4 separate regions of the Homo sapiens genome follow, and all the other regions are linked to region 2. Evidence: promoter capture Hi-C in 16 types of primary human blood cells and fetal thymus (Javierre and others, 2016). All regions are on one chromosome and are shown on one strand. Each heading gives the region's core, a stretch centred on a gene start or on the middle of the fragment in contact. The rest is flanking DNA. Distances are from core to core; before and after follow the strand shown.

Evidence for each region. Contacts are between HindIII fragments. The CHiCAGO score rates a contact against its expected background, and 5 or more counts as called.
Region 1: a contact is called between a fragment that was not itself captured here and the fragment with the promoter of THRSP in region 2, in 3 of 17 cell types (erythroblasts, megakaryocytes and total CD4 T cells). The highest score is 7.2, in erythroblasts.
Region 3: a fragment that was not itself captured here is called in contact with the fragment with the promoter of THRSP in region 2 in 5 of 17 cell types (erythroblasts, endothelial precursors, naive CD4 T cells and 2 more); the score reaches 8.1 in erythroblasts.
Region 4: a contact is called between a fragment that was not itself captured here and the fragment with the promoter of THRSP in region 2, in 2 of 17 cell types (activated CD4 T cells and non-activated CD4 T cells). The highest score is 6.6, in activated CD4 T cells.

What each region holds. Positions count from the first base shown.
Region 1 is chr11:77,758,213-77,761,992 of GRCh38, reverse strand. All of the region lies in intron 2 of RSF1 (remodeling and spacing factor 1), which reads left to right. Among named protein-coding and RNA genes, the nearest start is that of RSF1-IT1, 20 kb to the right of the region's middle. The HindIII fragment of the contact is 5,162 bases long and covers 1-3,780 here.
Region 2 is chr11:78,061,627-78,065,366 of GRCh38, reverse strand. It overlaps THRSP (thyroid hormone responsive), which reads right to left and starts at 1,506. Exons shown (of 2, transcript NM_003251.4): 1 at 1,026-1,506. The coding sequence starts at 1,485. The coding sequence ends at 1,045. The region is part of intron 1 of NDUFC2-KCTD14 (NDUFC2-KCTD14 readthrough); the gene reads left to right. The HindIII fragment of the contact is 4,485 bases long and covers 1-1,761 here.
Region 3 is chr11:77,784,552-77,788,138 of GRCh38, reverse strand. All of the region lies in intron 1 of RSF1 (remodeling and spacing factor 1), which reads left to right. It also overlaps the pseudogene LOC124902804. Among named protein-coding and RNA genes, the nearest start is that of RSF1, 34 kb to the left of the region's middle. The HindIII fragment of the contact is 3,098 bases long and covers 485-3,582 here.
Region 4 is chr11:78,364,210-78,367,635 of GRCh38, reverse strand. All of the region lies in intron 1 of GAB2 (GRB2 associated binding protein 2), which reads left to right. Among named protein-coding and RNA genes, the nearest start is that of GAB2, 52 kb to the left of the region's middle. RefSeq lists an enhancer at 1,608-2,520. The HindIII fragment of the contact is 2,076 bases long and covers 690-2,765 here.

The sequences.
Region 1 (3,780 bases), core at 357-2,856, 300 kb after region 2:
TGTGGTGGTGCATGCCTGTAGTACCAGCTATGCAAGAGGCTGAGGTGAAAGTATTGCTTCAGCTAGCTGAGGAGGTTGAGGCTGCAGTGAGCCAAGATCGTGCCACTGCACTCCAGCCTGGGCGACAGAGTGAGACCCTGTCTCAAAAAAAAAAAAAAAAAAAATCACCGAATGGAAATTTAAACTAGCAGTTCTGCTAGGACCTGTTAACTCTTGCTTTGTTGGATGGGCCTTGGCCTTATTCTTCACATTCCTTTTACTTGGCAAGTCATAAAGAAATTTCTCTGCCAGTGAACCTTTACGCTTCCATGAAATTCCCCTATTTTCTGTGGTTGTTAATGATTGATTAATGAGCAATTTCAGACACCTTGACCATGGATAATGAATACCACTATGCTAAATAACAATTTGCCTTCACATGCCTTCACAAATTTAGTACCTGCACCTCTACTTCTACTGCCCTGCCTCTTTCCTGAAGACAGCCATGTGAAGACCTTTAAAACTAGTGGGATAACCAATTATTAATAAATTATCCCTTAAAAGAAATCGCACTTGATTTCTTTTAGCCTCAGAATAATTTCTAAGTAAATAGGAGTTTAAAAAAAAAAAGAAATACTGTAACATTGAATGTAGTAAGTGTTTCAAAGAAATGTTAAAAAATGAAAGCAAATACGAATCTTAGAATAAGCAGAAAGTATTTTGGGGGGCTCAGTACTTGAAAGATGATGTCATTAAGTAGAAAATAACCTAATGTGGCCAGGTGCGGTGGCTCACGCCTGTAATCCCAGCACTTTGGGAGGCCAGGGCTGGCGGATCACAAGGTCAGGAGATTGAGACCATCCTGACCAACATGGTGAAACCCCGTCCCTACTGAAAATACAAAAAAAAATTAGCTGGGCGTGGTGGCAAGCGCCCAGCTACTCCGGAGGCTGAGGCAGGAGAACCGCTTGAATCTGGGAGGCGGAAGTTGCAGGGAGGCGGAGGTTGCAGTGAGCCGAGATCGCGGTGAGCCGAGATTGCACCACTGCACTCCACCCTGGTGACAGAGCGAGACTCCGTTTCAGAAAAAAAAAAAGAAAGAAAATAACCTAGTGTGTCTTTTCTGGGGTGTTTTTCTACCCCTCAACAGGAGATGATCGTATTCATATGTACCCTGAAAGTAAAGTACCTAGTATTAGGTTTAGAAATCCCTTGAAAATGAATAAATTTGGCAATAGATGGCCTTGATCTAAACAGCAATTTCAGAAAGGCCCATTGTCATCTGTTAACAAATCATAAAGGTCACCTTTTGTCATTTGATAATTAGGTTGTATTTTGACAAGAACTAGATGTTCCTTTACTGTTGTATTTCTCAAAAGTAAATTAAGATTAACACTCTTAATTTTTATATGCATTGTTAGTATTTTGTGTTTTTTATTGAGATATAATTCACATAAGATAAAATTCACCATTTTGAAGTGTACAGTTCATTGGTTTTTAGTGTATTCACTATGTTGTGCAAACATAACCACTAATTCCAGAACTTTTCTAACATCTCAGTAAGAAGCCTTGTATCTGTTATCAATCAGTATCAATCACACCCACCTTTTCCCCTGTATCCATCTGTATGGATTTGCCTACTCTGGACATTTCTTATAAATGGAATCATAAAATATGTGGTCTTTTGTATTTTCTTTCACTTAGTATTAGTATAATGATTTCCAGGTTTATGTACATTGTATCATGTATCATCTCATTCCTTTTTATTGCCAAATACTCATCCATTATATGGATAATAGCATCTTTTATGTATCCATCATCAGTTGATGGACATTTGCTTGTTTCCCACTTTGTTGTCTATTAGGAATAATGCTGCTATGGACATTTGTGTACAAGTTTTTCTGTGAACACGTATTTTCACTTCTCTCCTGTATATAACTAGGAGTAGAATTGTTAGGTCATATGGTAATTCTGTGTTTAACTTTTTAAGGACCTGCCAAACTGTTTTCCATAGCGGCTGTACCATAGCAATTTATGTTGTATTCATAGCAATTTATGAGGTTTCCAGTTTCTTTATAACTTTTTAATAATAATGATAATAGATAACATTTGACAGCTTATTATAAACTCAGTGCTATGCTTTTTTTTTTTTTTTTTTAACATGCATCACCATTTAATTCTCACCACAACCTGGATCATAGAATGGTGAATTACTCCCAAAGTCACATAGACACCAGATGGTGAAGCAAGGATTGAACACAGGCTTGTCTGATAGAGCATGAATGCTTAATGCTTTATATATTGCAAAGGATTTTCTTTTTCTTTTTGAGATGGAGTCTTGCTTTTTCGCCAGGCTGGAGTGAGTGCAGTGGCACAATCTCGGCTCACTGCAACCTCCGCCTCCTGGATTTAAGCGATTCTCCTGCCTCAGCCTCCTGAGTAGTTGGGATTACAGGCACACGCCACCATGCCTGGCTAATTTTTGTATTTTTAGTAAAGACGGGGTTTCACCATGTTGGGCAGGATGGTCTCGAGAGATCTCTTGACCTCGTGATCTGCCCGCCTTGGCCTCCCAAAATGCTGGGATTACAGGTGTGAGCCGCTACGCCCAGCCTTAGCATTTTCATAAAACTTTTACAATGCCAAGCTAAAATTTTTTATTTTTTGTAGAGGTGGCATCTCGCCACATTGCCCAGGCCGATCTCAAACTCCTGGGCTCAAGTGATCCTCCTGCCTTGGCCTCCCAAAGTGTTGGGATTACAGGTGTGAGCCACTGCACCTGGTTTGTGGTATTTTACAAATATCTTTTGACTGTTGCCTATAGTATAAAATACTTATTTGTTGAACTATGACAGCTTGCAAAATACAGTGGATACACTGTTTCATATCATATAGAAAAATTCACTGAAAATAGATCAACAACCTAAATATAAGGGCTAAATCATGAAACTCTTAGAAAAAAATAAAGGGAAATCTTCATGACCTTGGATCTGGCAATGGATTCTTAGATAGAAAACCAGAAGACTGAGCAACAACATAAAAAATAGATTAGTTAGACTTTGTCAAATTTTAAAACATTTGTACATCAAAGGACATTATGAAGAAAGTGAAAAGACAGCCTACAGAATGGAAGAAGTTATATTGCAAATTGCACGTATTGCAAATCATATAACTGATAAGCATTTAATATTTGGAATACATATAAGGAGCTCCTAAAACTCAACAACATAAAGACAACCCAAATGGCAAAATTTTTAATAGACATTTCTTCAAAGAAGATACACAAAGATCAAAAAGCATATGAGAAGAAGTTCATCATCATTTGTCCTTGGGGAAATGTGATTCAAAACCGTAAAATACCACTTTATACCTAACAGGATGGCTATTTTTTTTAAAAAGGAAAGTAAGTGTGGTGAATTTGTGGAGAAATTGGAACTCTCCTAAATTCTTCGTGAGAGTGTAATATGGTACAGCTGCTATGGAAGGGAGTTTGGCAGTTCCTCATAAAGCTCATCAGAATTGCCATATGACCTAGCAATTCCACTTCTACATATATAATTACTCCAGAGCAGGGACTCAAGCAGATCTTTGTATGCCAGTGTTTATTGCAGCATTATTCACTGTAGCCAAAAGGTAGAAACAACCTGTGTTCATCAACAGATGGATGGATTTTGCATTGAACAGAAATCTTATGTATAATATAAAAGAAAGATGAATTGGACTTTTTTCAGAAGTCTTGTGGTTTTACTGGATATCCGCTTAAAAATGGAATATGTGAAAGTTCTTTTGTGAGTGGTAAAA
Region 2 (3,740 bases), core at 257-2,756:
CTCATCCACACTCACCACCCCAGCCCCTCTGTGCATAGACATGTAGGCTTAGACTGGAACACATATTCATATGTACATACAACAGGGCTTCCCAACAGGCATGTCTGCATACTCCAGTTTGCCTGGAATGGATTAGAGTGCCATGACTGGTCCCTCGGCTTCCCGTTTGGTGGGTTCCAACCTGGGATGGTCAGAGTACCCCCAGCCTGTTGTAGCAGTACTGCAAGCAGCCTCACCTATGTATCCCCATGTGCCATATAATAATTTTCCATGTTCTGTGACTTGAAAAAATGTTGGGAAACACTGTCACACAAATGGAATTCACAATGTTCACTTAAATCAATGTGCATGCCTTAGGTAAGTTTTTTTTTTTTTTTTGAGATGGAGTCTCCCTCTGTCACCTAGGCTGGAGTGCAGTGGCACAATCTCAGCTCACTGCAACCTCTGCCTCCCAGGTTCATGCCATTCTCCTGCCTCAGCCTCCCGAGTAGCTGGGACTACAGGCACCCACCACCACGCCCAGCTAATTTTTTGTATTTTTAGTAGAGATTGGGTTTCACCATGTTAGCCAGGATGGTCTCAATCTCCTGGCCTCATGATCCGCCCGCCTCGGCCTCCCAAAGTGCTTTGGTGTGAGCCACCGCGCCTGGCCCCTCTTCAATTAAATTCTTAACAAAGTCACTGATGAGAACACACTCATTCAATTCACACATTTACAAGCATTCACATACTAATAAATGCACACATGCACAAACACATATATGTGCATATGAGATATGCCCTCACAGGCCACTTTTCCCTCTGTTTCCATATCACTTCATTGCAATTGCCAATTTGAGGTCAGAAGGATAGTAACACAGGCCTAGTCTTAGGCCCTCCTAGGTTGTGGTCCCAATACCCTGACCCAAGAGTGGCTCTGTCTGAAAGTCAGGCTGTTCCTCTCCCAGTGGGTTGCACCACTGCCCCCTCTCCTCTCCTGGAATGTCCCTTTGTAGACTCACACCCACCAGCATGGCCACCATTACCTTCCCTAGTGTCCAAGGTCTACCAAACTTGTCCCGTCATTTCCTGGTATTTCCTTGTCACCTCCTGGGCTTTCTCGGTGAGGTGCATGAGGATGTGATGGAGGCTGGAGAAGTGCAGGTGGAACTGGGCTTCCAGGTCCAGCTCTCCTGAGGCACTCTCGTCCTCGACTTCCTCTGTCTCTGCGGTTCCATTCTCTTCGCTGCCTGCCACCTTGGCCTGCCACTCCTCCCGCGGCAGCAGCCCATGGTCCACATCCACACAGATGGCCTTGAGCATGGTGAAGTAGGTGTAGAGATCAGGGGCCTCAGCCTGGGCCTGGCCCCCAGGCCCACTCAGCTGCACGTCCCGCAGAAGGCTGGGGATCATCACCACCTGCTCCATGTTGTGCACCTCGGCTGCATACCGGTCCATGACGGTCAGCAGGCAGTTCTTGGGGTAACGCTTGGTTAGCACCTGCATGGTTGCTTCCTCTGACACAATGAGACCAGCAGACTGCCCCCGCACTATTTCTAGGCTCTCGGCAGATTGACAGGATGCCAATGCCCAGCTGTTGGGTCAACACAGCCCTGTTTTGGGCCAATCCCAGGGCTCAGGCCCCAGCATCTGTATCAGGTGATCCATCTGCCCAGAGACAGATCTGCCAGCCTTCTACTTGTCATCCCAGCTCTGCATGACTGCCCCAGCAAGAACCCGACTCTTCCTCTGTCAGCTTGCTGAGCCAGTTGGAAGGAAGCTTTTCCCTTTGGCAACTGGTATACTGGACTTCAGGGCAATAAATAATTCTTTCAGGTCACTGGAGACCAAGCTGTCTCTTTGCTGCCTGCTTAGGGCAGCCCTCCAAAGCACAGTTCACTCCTTCAACCTGGGGTGACTCCATTGTGAAATGGAGAGGATTTGAAGTGAAACAGCTTGATGTGGGGCAAGGAACACTGAGGTTGGAGTCAGAAGCCCAGTACTGCAATTTCCTAGCTGAGTTTTTTTTTGTTTGTTTTTTGCTGGCTAACATTTATTGAGCACCTACTGCACATCAGGGTCTGCTGAGCTTTTTCGTGAGTGATCTCATTTAATCTTCACCACAACCCTTGTAAATGTTTTATTTATTTAATTTTTGTAGAGATGGTCTTGCTATGTTGCCCAGTCTGGTTTTGAACTTCTGGACTCAAGCAATCCTCCCACCTCAGCCTCCCAAAGTGCTGGAATTGCAGGTGTGAACCACCAGTATTCCTGTTTTGCCAGTGAGGAAATTTAGGTGCAGACAGCTAAAGTAACTTGCTCAAGGTCCCACTGGGGCTGGGATTCCAGCCCAGGACCACCTCTACCCACCTCCAGGCAGTGCTGTGGACTGACATGAGGTTACATAGTCATACAAGTTAACCAGATCCATATCCTCTGTAAATTTGAGGTGGTGTGAGGATTGAATAAGACAAACTAATAAAAATGCTTTGTATCAGTCCAGACAAGCGGCTGGGATCAAAAGAGGAAAAAAAATGCTTTGTAAACCACAAAGCCCAATCCTCAGATGTATTATCTATGCAGATTCTAGATTATTGCTAAGGCTTCTCCCAAATCTAACCAGTCATTCCATAAGCTACAATGCTTCCACTTTATTACTGACCTTTCCTTGGACCAGCAGTCTTGGAAGATAATAATCTTTTGCGTGGTCATATTGTCATAGTTTACAAACTGCATTTGCTATATATTTTTTATTAGATATTTAAGAAAATGGCCGGGCGCAGTGGCTCACGCCTGTAATCCCAGCACTTTGGGAAGCCCAGGCGGGTGGATCACGAGGTCAGGAGATCGAGACCATCTTGGCTAACGTGGTGAAACCCTGTCTCTACTAAAAATACAAAAAATAAGCCGGGCGTGGTGGTGGGCGCCTGCAGTCCCGGCTACTCGGGAGGCTGAGGCAGTAGAATGGCGTGAACTCAGAAGGTGGAGCTTGCAGTGAGCCGAGATGATGCTGCACCACTGCACTCCAGCCTGGGCAACATAGCGAGACTCCGCCTCAAAAAAAAAAAAAGAAAAAGAAAAGAAAAGAAAATGAAGGCCTGGGGAAAGGCCCAAAGTTGCACAACAAGTTAGTGGCAGAGTCAAGTGGAGAATAAGACATTCTGAATTCTGGCTCAGGTACCTGCCTCCTCCACTGCCTCTGGTGAAATCTGCTGAATGATGATACCTCCCACGCCTGCAGGAGAGGAGAGAGGAGGAGGGAGCACAGGGAGGGGACGTGGGGCTGAACAGGGCCTCTGTGTTGTCTCACCTAAGCCACCCTCACCTCCACCCTAGGGCAGGAGCCCACTCTGCACCCTCCCAACTGACAATCATTCACTCCTCTGCTCCCTCCCACTACAGCCAGAGCTATGAAAAAGCTTATCTTTAGACTGAACAAAATTCCGCCTCCCAGCCCGGCATGGTGGCTCATGCCTGTAATCCCAGTACTTTGGAAGGCTGAGGCAGGAGGATCATTTGAACCCAGTAGTTTGAGACCAGCATGGGCAACATATGAGACCCTATCTCTACAAAAAATTAATTTTAAAAAATCAGCTGGGTGTGATGGCACATATCTGAGGTCTCAGCTACTCAAGTGGCTGAGGTGGGAGGATTGCTTGAGCCCGGGAGGTCAAGGCTGCAGTGAACTGTGATGGCACCACTGCACTCTGGCCTGGGTGACACAGCAAGACCCTGTCTCGAAAAAAAAAGAAAAAGAAAAA
Region 3 (3,587 bases), core at 784-3,283, 280 kb after region 2:
TAGTGTCTCACTCTGGTTGCCCAGGTTAGACTACAGTGGTGTGATCTTGGCTCACTGCAGCCTTGACCTTCCTGACTCAAGTGATTCTCCTACCTCAGCCTCCCGAGTAGTTACTATTACAGGCGTACACCTCCATACCTGACAAATATTTTTTGTATTTTTTTGTATTTTTAGTAGAGACGGGGTTTCACTGTGTTGCCCAGACTCGTCTCAAACTCCTGGACTCAAGCAGTTGCCTGTCTAGGCCTCCCATAGTGCTGGGATTACAGGTGTGAGTCACAGCACTCGAACTTTTTTTTTTTTTTACTGTTCTGAAGGTACATTAGCAATGCCTGGTAAGTTTTTAGTAGATACTAAACTCTGAATTTTACTATGCTAGATGCTGGATATTTTTATATTCCTATGATATTCTTGATATTTGTTCTGCATTATGATTAAGTTGATTGGAAAGAGATTGATTATTTAGCATCTTGATTTTTAAGCTTTGTTAAGTGGGACTGGATATGCGTTTAGTCTAGTTTTTATTTTTTTCATATTAAGGCAAGACCTATTTTTCTGTAAAGACCCAGATAGTACGTATTTTAGGCTTTGTGGGCTCTACAGTTTGTGTGTCAGCTATCTCTCTCTTCTACTGTAGTGTAAAAGCAACCATAAATGGTATTTAAATGAATAAACATGGTTGTGAACTTTATTTTTAGATACTATAATTTAAATTTTATGTAGTTTTAAATTGTCATGAAATGTTCTTTTTTTTACCTTTTTCAGCCATTTAATAATGTAAAAGTCATTCTTAGTTCTTGGGCTATACAAAAATAGGTGCTGAACCACATTTGATCTGTAGGATATAATTTGCTGACCCCCTGTTGCTTTAACCAGTGTTAGCCAAAAGATGAGCTTTTCCATTCTTGCTGTTGGGGGGCAGGCCTTGTTCATAGACCTGTGTGGGTGTTGGGTGCTATTCCCTTTATTTCTTTGGAGCAGTTCTATCCCTGACCTTGGGTAATTTCCCCGGGTACATGCCCTGCTCAGTCCTTTGCTAAAGACTCAGAGGGACTCTGCAAATTTCCAGAGTACTCTCTGCAGCTCTCTTCTCTGACACTTTTCTCTGTTAATTCTACCTTTGCCTTCTTGACTCTTAACCTCATCTCTCTAAGGGAGATTGCCAGGTTTTTGATTGATCCTCCCTGTTTGCCTCTTTACCCAGTTTGTAAATTGGGGTAGTTATAGGGTTTATCTCTGTTTTGCATCTCTCATGTATCACTATTCATAGTCTTTTGTTACTCGTATAATGTCTTGAGTGTCTAGTTTCATATATTTTTGTTGTCGTTTAGTTGTTTCAGTCAGGTAAACTTTGTCCTTATTACTCCATATTTGTTGGAAACACAAGAACAGTACTTTTTTTTCTTTTTTACTGTATTTTAAGAGATTTGGGCAGGAGGGTGAGCCCACCATCTTGATGTAATATGCCTCCACCATTATAGTTTTAGGAGAATTAAAATTATGGGGATCTTTTATTCCCCACTGTATATTGAGTGTCTACTGTATGCTAACCCCTTCTCTAAACCTTGTGACTAAAACTTTAATGGAACATACATTCTAGTGGTCTCAACAACAGATCATAATATAATGTTGAACTATATGAAATAGGAAATATATGTGTTCCTTGGGGTACTCCTGGCTTGAGTGAAAAGGTGTCCAAGGCTCCAGCCATTTTAAATATTTTTAAATGCCAATTTTAAATTTAAATAAATAATACATTTATTTACCAAAATTGGGTAATTTTTTATTCGCGTGCTGATCAGATATTCTGAATGATAAGTTAACAATAATCTTGCTAAGCACAACATAGGATACTTTAATAAATTCAGTTTGGTAGACTAAATCTCTTAATATACATAGTATTTGTGGGGATAAATTAATGGGAAGCATGATGGTACGTAGTAAATGTCAGGATTTTTAGTATTAGCTGGGTTGAAATCTTAGCCTTGCCACTTGATATTTGTGTGACCTGGCAATTTATTAACTTCAGAGTTTCTTCATAATGGAGACAGTAATATCCTCCTATAAAGTTTTAAGGATCTTTTGCCTTATGGAAATGTTAAAATCCACTATACGATATGATATGCAGATGTTTCTTTTTAGAGTTCATAGTTCATGTTTAACAAATAGATCTACGTATAATTCTTTTTTTTTTTTTTTTTTTTTTTTTTTTTGAGACAGAATCTCACTCTGTCGCCCAGGTTGGAGTGCAGTGGCGCGATCTCGGCTCGCTGCAAGCTCTGCCTCCCAGGTTCACGCCATTCTCCTGCCTCAGCCTCCCGAGTAGCTGGGACTACAGGTGCCCGCCGCCATGCCAGGCTAATTTTTTTGTATTTTTTTTTTTTCAGTAGAGACGGGGTTTCACCGTGATCCACCTGCCTCGGCCTCCCAGAGTGCTGGGATTACAGGCGTAAGCCACTGTGCCTGTCCAATTTGCTCTTTTAAAAATTCATATCATCTGCTCAAGTACACATCTTTAATTCTTTAATGTTGCTTTTCTTTTTTTTTTGAGATGGAGTTTCGCTCTTGTTGCCTGGGCTGGAGTGCAATGGCATGAGCTCGGCTCACTGCAACCTCCGCCTCCCAGGTTCAAGCAATTCTCCTGCCTCAGCCTCCTAAGTAGCTGGGATTACAGGTGTATGCCACCACGGCTGGCTAATTTTTGTATTTTTAGTAGAGACACAGTTTCACCATGTTGGCGAGGCTGGTCTCAAACTCCTGATCTCAGGTGATCCACCCACCTCAGCCTCCCAAAGTGTTGGGATTACAGGCATGAGCCACTGTGCCCAGCCAATGTTGCTTTAAAAATTGAGAATTCTCTCTGGACATGATGGAGTAATAAGGGGCTTTTACCCACTTGTCATAAACAGCTAGTAAACTGGATCAAGATACATGAACCATCTCTTTTTAGATATTGTACTAAGGCAAATCAGGATTGTTTTCCCTGGGTGATGGGTGAAATAAAAGAAGTGAGCCCTATACCACTACCAGGGTTTCCTGCCTGGAAGCAGCTTTAGGACCGCAGAAACAGAGAGAGAGAATCTAATGAGTCTGGCAGCTTCACTCAGTTGAGGAGGCAAAGATTGGATTTCAAGAGGCTTAGGCAGCTAGAAGTTGCAGGGCCAGGTTCTGAAAAGAAGAGGGCTATGCAGAAGACAGAATTTCAGAAATCTGTACATGGGCTACCTTGAGTCTTTGCTGAAGACTAGGTCGTATATGCAAACAGTGAAAATCCACAACGCTAGGCACTGAACATCCAGGTTATTACTAGCCAAACATTTCCTAGAACTTACACTGGAGATGTTTGAACTCTGACCAGAGTGAAATATTCTTTGTAGCACTCAGGGCATTCAATGGAGAACCCAATTGATTCATTGTAGTAAACCTGACAGAAAAGGCCTTAAAAAGATAAGATGAATCTGCAAATAAATACCTGCCAAAACAAAGCCCAACTGATTTTTACAGCACATTGCAAAATCTTAACAGCACATCTTAGCAGCGCTTAGCAGCATGGTAACATTGATATTTTCCAACATCCAAGCTTAATT
Region 4 (3,426 bases), core at 478-2,977, 300 kb before region 2:
ACAGATTATAGACTGGTATCTTTAGCCTGAATTCCATCTATAAAGTGTTTTGCTTGGCCTGCAGTGTTTTAAACACTTTTAATTAGTCGTAGATTGTTAAAAGCTGAGATCTCTTACATAAAATCCGTAAAATGTCCAGCTTCCAGATCTGGGAACACTGGGCCCAAATTTCTGCCTAGCAGCAATTAGCTGGAACTGGGTGGTAGCTTTCCATTTAAGCCAAAGCATATGCTTTCTAGTCTGCTGTATCACATGCACGCACGCACACATACATGCACACACCAGTCACTCATATATGTACCTACCTGACCCTTTACACTTCCAGACCATATGCCCTTCGAAGGCAGGATTTTTGTCTGTTTTGTTCATTGCTTTTTTCTCATGACCAGAATGTTGTCTGGCACAAAGTAGGTTAAAGGATATTGCTAGATGGAGGAAGAATGTATTTGTGACTCTTGGTCCAAGTTGATGGGGGAAAAGAAAACAGAAGTTTTCAATTTGGAGCTCCTCCAGATATTTGAGCTATGTTCCCCTTTACCCCTGAGATACTGTATGGCTCAGGAATATACCTTAGTATCATAATTTTGTATATGACTTATCTCCCTTGCTAGATGGTAAATTCATTGGGTTCAGGGACCTGTCTTGTATTTTTTTGCATCCTTAAGAATACCTTGCACATAATGGAAGCTTAAATACTCCTTGGATGGTTAGTGGGTTTTTAAAATTTCTCATGTAACTTTGTGAATAAAGATGGGGAGATTCTAATGAATATGTTGTTCTGGAGGATCATTTGAGAAGCAACCATTTGAGTTGCTTCTCCACTATATTTTCTCCAAGCCCTATCCCCAATTACATTCTATTCGCCATCATAGTCTGGATGGGGAATAGAATGTAATTGGGGATAGGGCTTGGAGAAAATATAGTGAATATAGAAGGTTTTTGATAATCCTTAACCCCTGCTCTTTGGTAGCAGGGTAAATTAACCCCCCATCCTCACTTTGTGCATATTCTATTTTAGTACTCATCTTTTTTTTTTTTTTTTTTTTTTTTGAGATGGAGTCTTGCTCTGTCGCCCAGCCTGGAATACAGTGGTGTGATCTCAGTTTACTGCAACCTCCACCTCCTGGGTTCAAGCAATTCTCCTGCCTCAGCCTCCCAAGTAGCTGGGACTACAGACATGCACCACTGTACCTGGCTAATTTTTGTATTTTTAGTAGAGACGGAAATCTAATTTCGCCATGTTGGCCAGGCTGGCCTTGAACTCCTGACCTCAGGTGATCCACCTGCCTCGGCCTCCCAAAGTGCTGGGATTACAGGCGTGAGCCACTGTGCCCAGCCTATTTTAGTACTCATCATATTATGTTAAAGAGCTTGTCTCCTACACTGGACTGTGATTTCCCTATCATTAAGAACTCGGTATGGTTTTTGTGCATCTAACAGCTAATACTTGATAATGTTTGTGTGCCAACTCTGTATAAACACTATTCTAGGAACTCAGTAAATGTTTGCATTGAATTGAGTTTGTGTTAGGAGTTGTATTAGAACTCTACACCACCTTATAGTTTATAAAACATATGTATATTCATTGTCTTATTTAATTTTGAAATCAACTGAGTGCTGCAAATGAGAAAAATCAAAGCCCAGAGAAAACTGTAACTGGTCCATAATTACACAGCAGTTAATGGCTGAACATCCAGGCTGAACTTTGCCAGTTAGTGGCTGAATATTCACGAAATTCTGATGCCTCCATAGAGCGGGATAGAATTATGGAGGACTTGTCATTCTGGACTGCGGAATTTGGACCTGTGTATTGAAACAAGAAGAGAAAGGGAAGTGTTTCTTAAGTTATTTTTGGATGAAGGCTTTTTGCGATCCAAGGCTTCATCCCCTCAAGCTCAACAATAGCATTCCTTGGGGGAGTGAGAAGATGATGAATGGTCATCAGTTTGCTTGCCTCACCCAGATTCCATTCCTACCTCCCAGAATTTTCCCTGGTCCCACCCAGCTCCACAGTAACAATCAATCCCAATCAGTGACTGTACTTCATTTTTTGGATCAAGGAATACCCCTCCCTTTTCTGTCTTCCTCCTTAGGGCTTTGGATAGGAGCCCTTTAATTGATGTTGACTAAACTGGAGGCCAGCCCCTGCATACCAGGAATGCCAGTGGCTTTGTTAGTTGAGGAGGGCGCTGCATTAGCACTGCCCTCTAAATCCCAGAGCAGGTGGAGGAAATCTAATTAGCATTTAGTAAGCCAAGGTGCCCTGGGGAGTTTCTGATAAAGAAAAGGTCACTGCAGAAGGAGAAGGGACACTGATAGGGAGACTTCATTTTCCTAGTGGGAACTTTCTGAAATGGACTGGCAATCAGGTGAGCTGGATTCTAATGCCTGCCTTACTGGTGGCTTTTTAATCACACTTAAGTCCCTCTGCTTATCTGAGATTTCATTTTCTTGTCTGTGTCTAGTCCGTTACCAGACTCCTTTTCCTACACAAATATTTGTTTCATAACAGTGGAAGGGACCTCAGATCATTAAGTTGCTATCACCTTGGGGTGACAGGTACACTAAAATCTCAGAAGTCACCACTAAAGATCTTATTCATGTAACCAAATAACACCTGTTCCCCAAAACCCTGTTGAAATAAAAAAAATGACTGCAGCCATTCCCACCCTTGTATTTCAAGCATAGCATTGCCACCTACTTGCAAAATACTATATAGACGTATATATATATATTTTTAAAAAGGTGCTATTACCTGGGAAGCTTTTCCCAACATTACATATGTCCAAATCTCACTCTGTATCTACTGAATCTTCTGATATCAGTAGATATGTAGTAAATATGTATAGTTTGGGGAAAATTTCTCAGGAAAGTTTGATAAAATCCCTGGTTTATGCTTTTTTGAAGAACTTAAACACATATAGCAAACTCAAGGCCTATCACAGCATTTGCTATCATAGTTGTTAGTAATATGTTTGGAGAGGAATTTGGGGGGATGGCTATTAAGTGAGAAGCTAGAGGTAGAATAACCACTGCAAGCAATAAGCATTTTACAAAATGGGGATTGAGCTCTATTCGTAGGTGATGAAATCAATGGTAATGAGTTGCTACCAGTATTTTCAAAGTAAAATAGTATACAAAAAGTAGCATGTATTGTGTCCAGTTAAGGATATTTATTGAAACTTTTAAGTTCATTGTATTTATAGATACTGTGCTACAATTTAAAAGACATTTCTTACTGAATTTTTGTCAAAATCCATTGACCTAGATAGGAATCTGTATTGGAGTAAAGATGGTTCTAAGGGGAAGGAGTGTAGAGAAGCAATGTGGGAGCCACATGCGGTGGTTCATGCCTATATTCTCAGTACTTTGGGAGGCGGAGGTGGGAGGATAGCTTGAGGCCAGGAATTCCAGAAGCAATGTGGA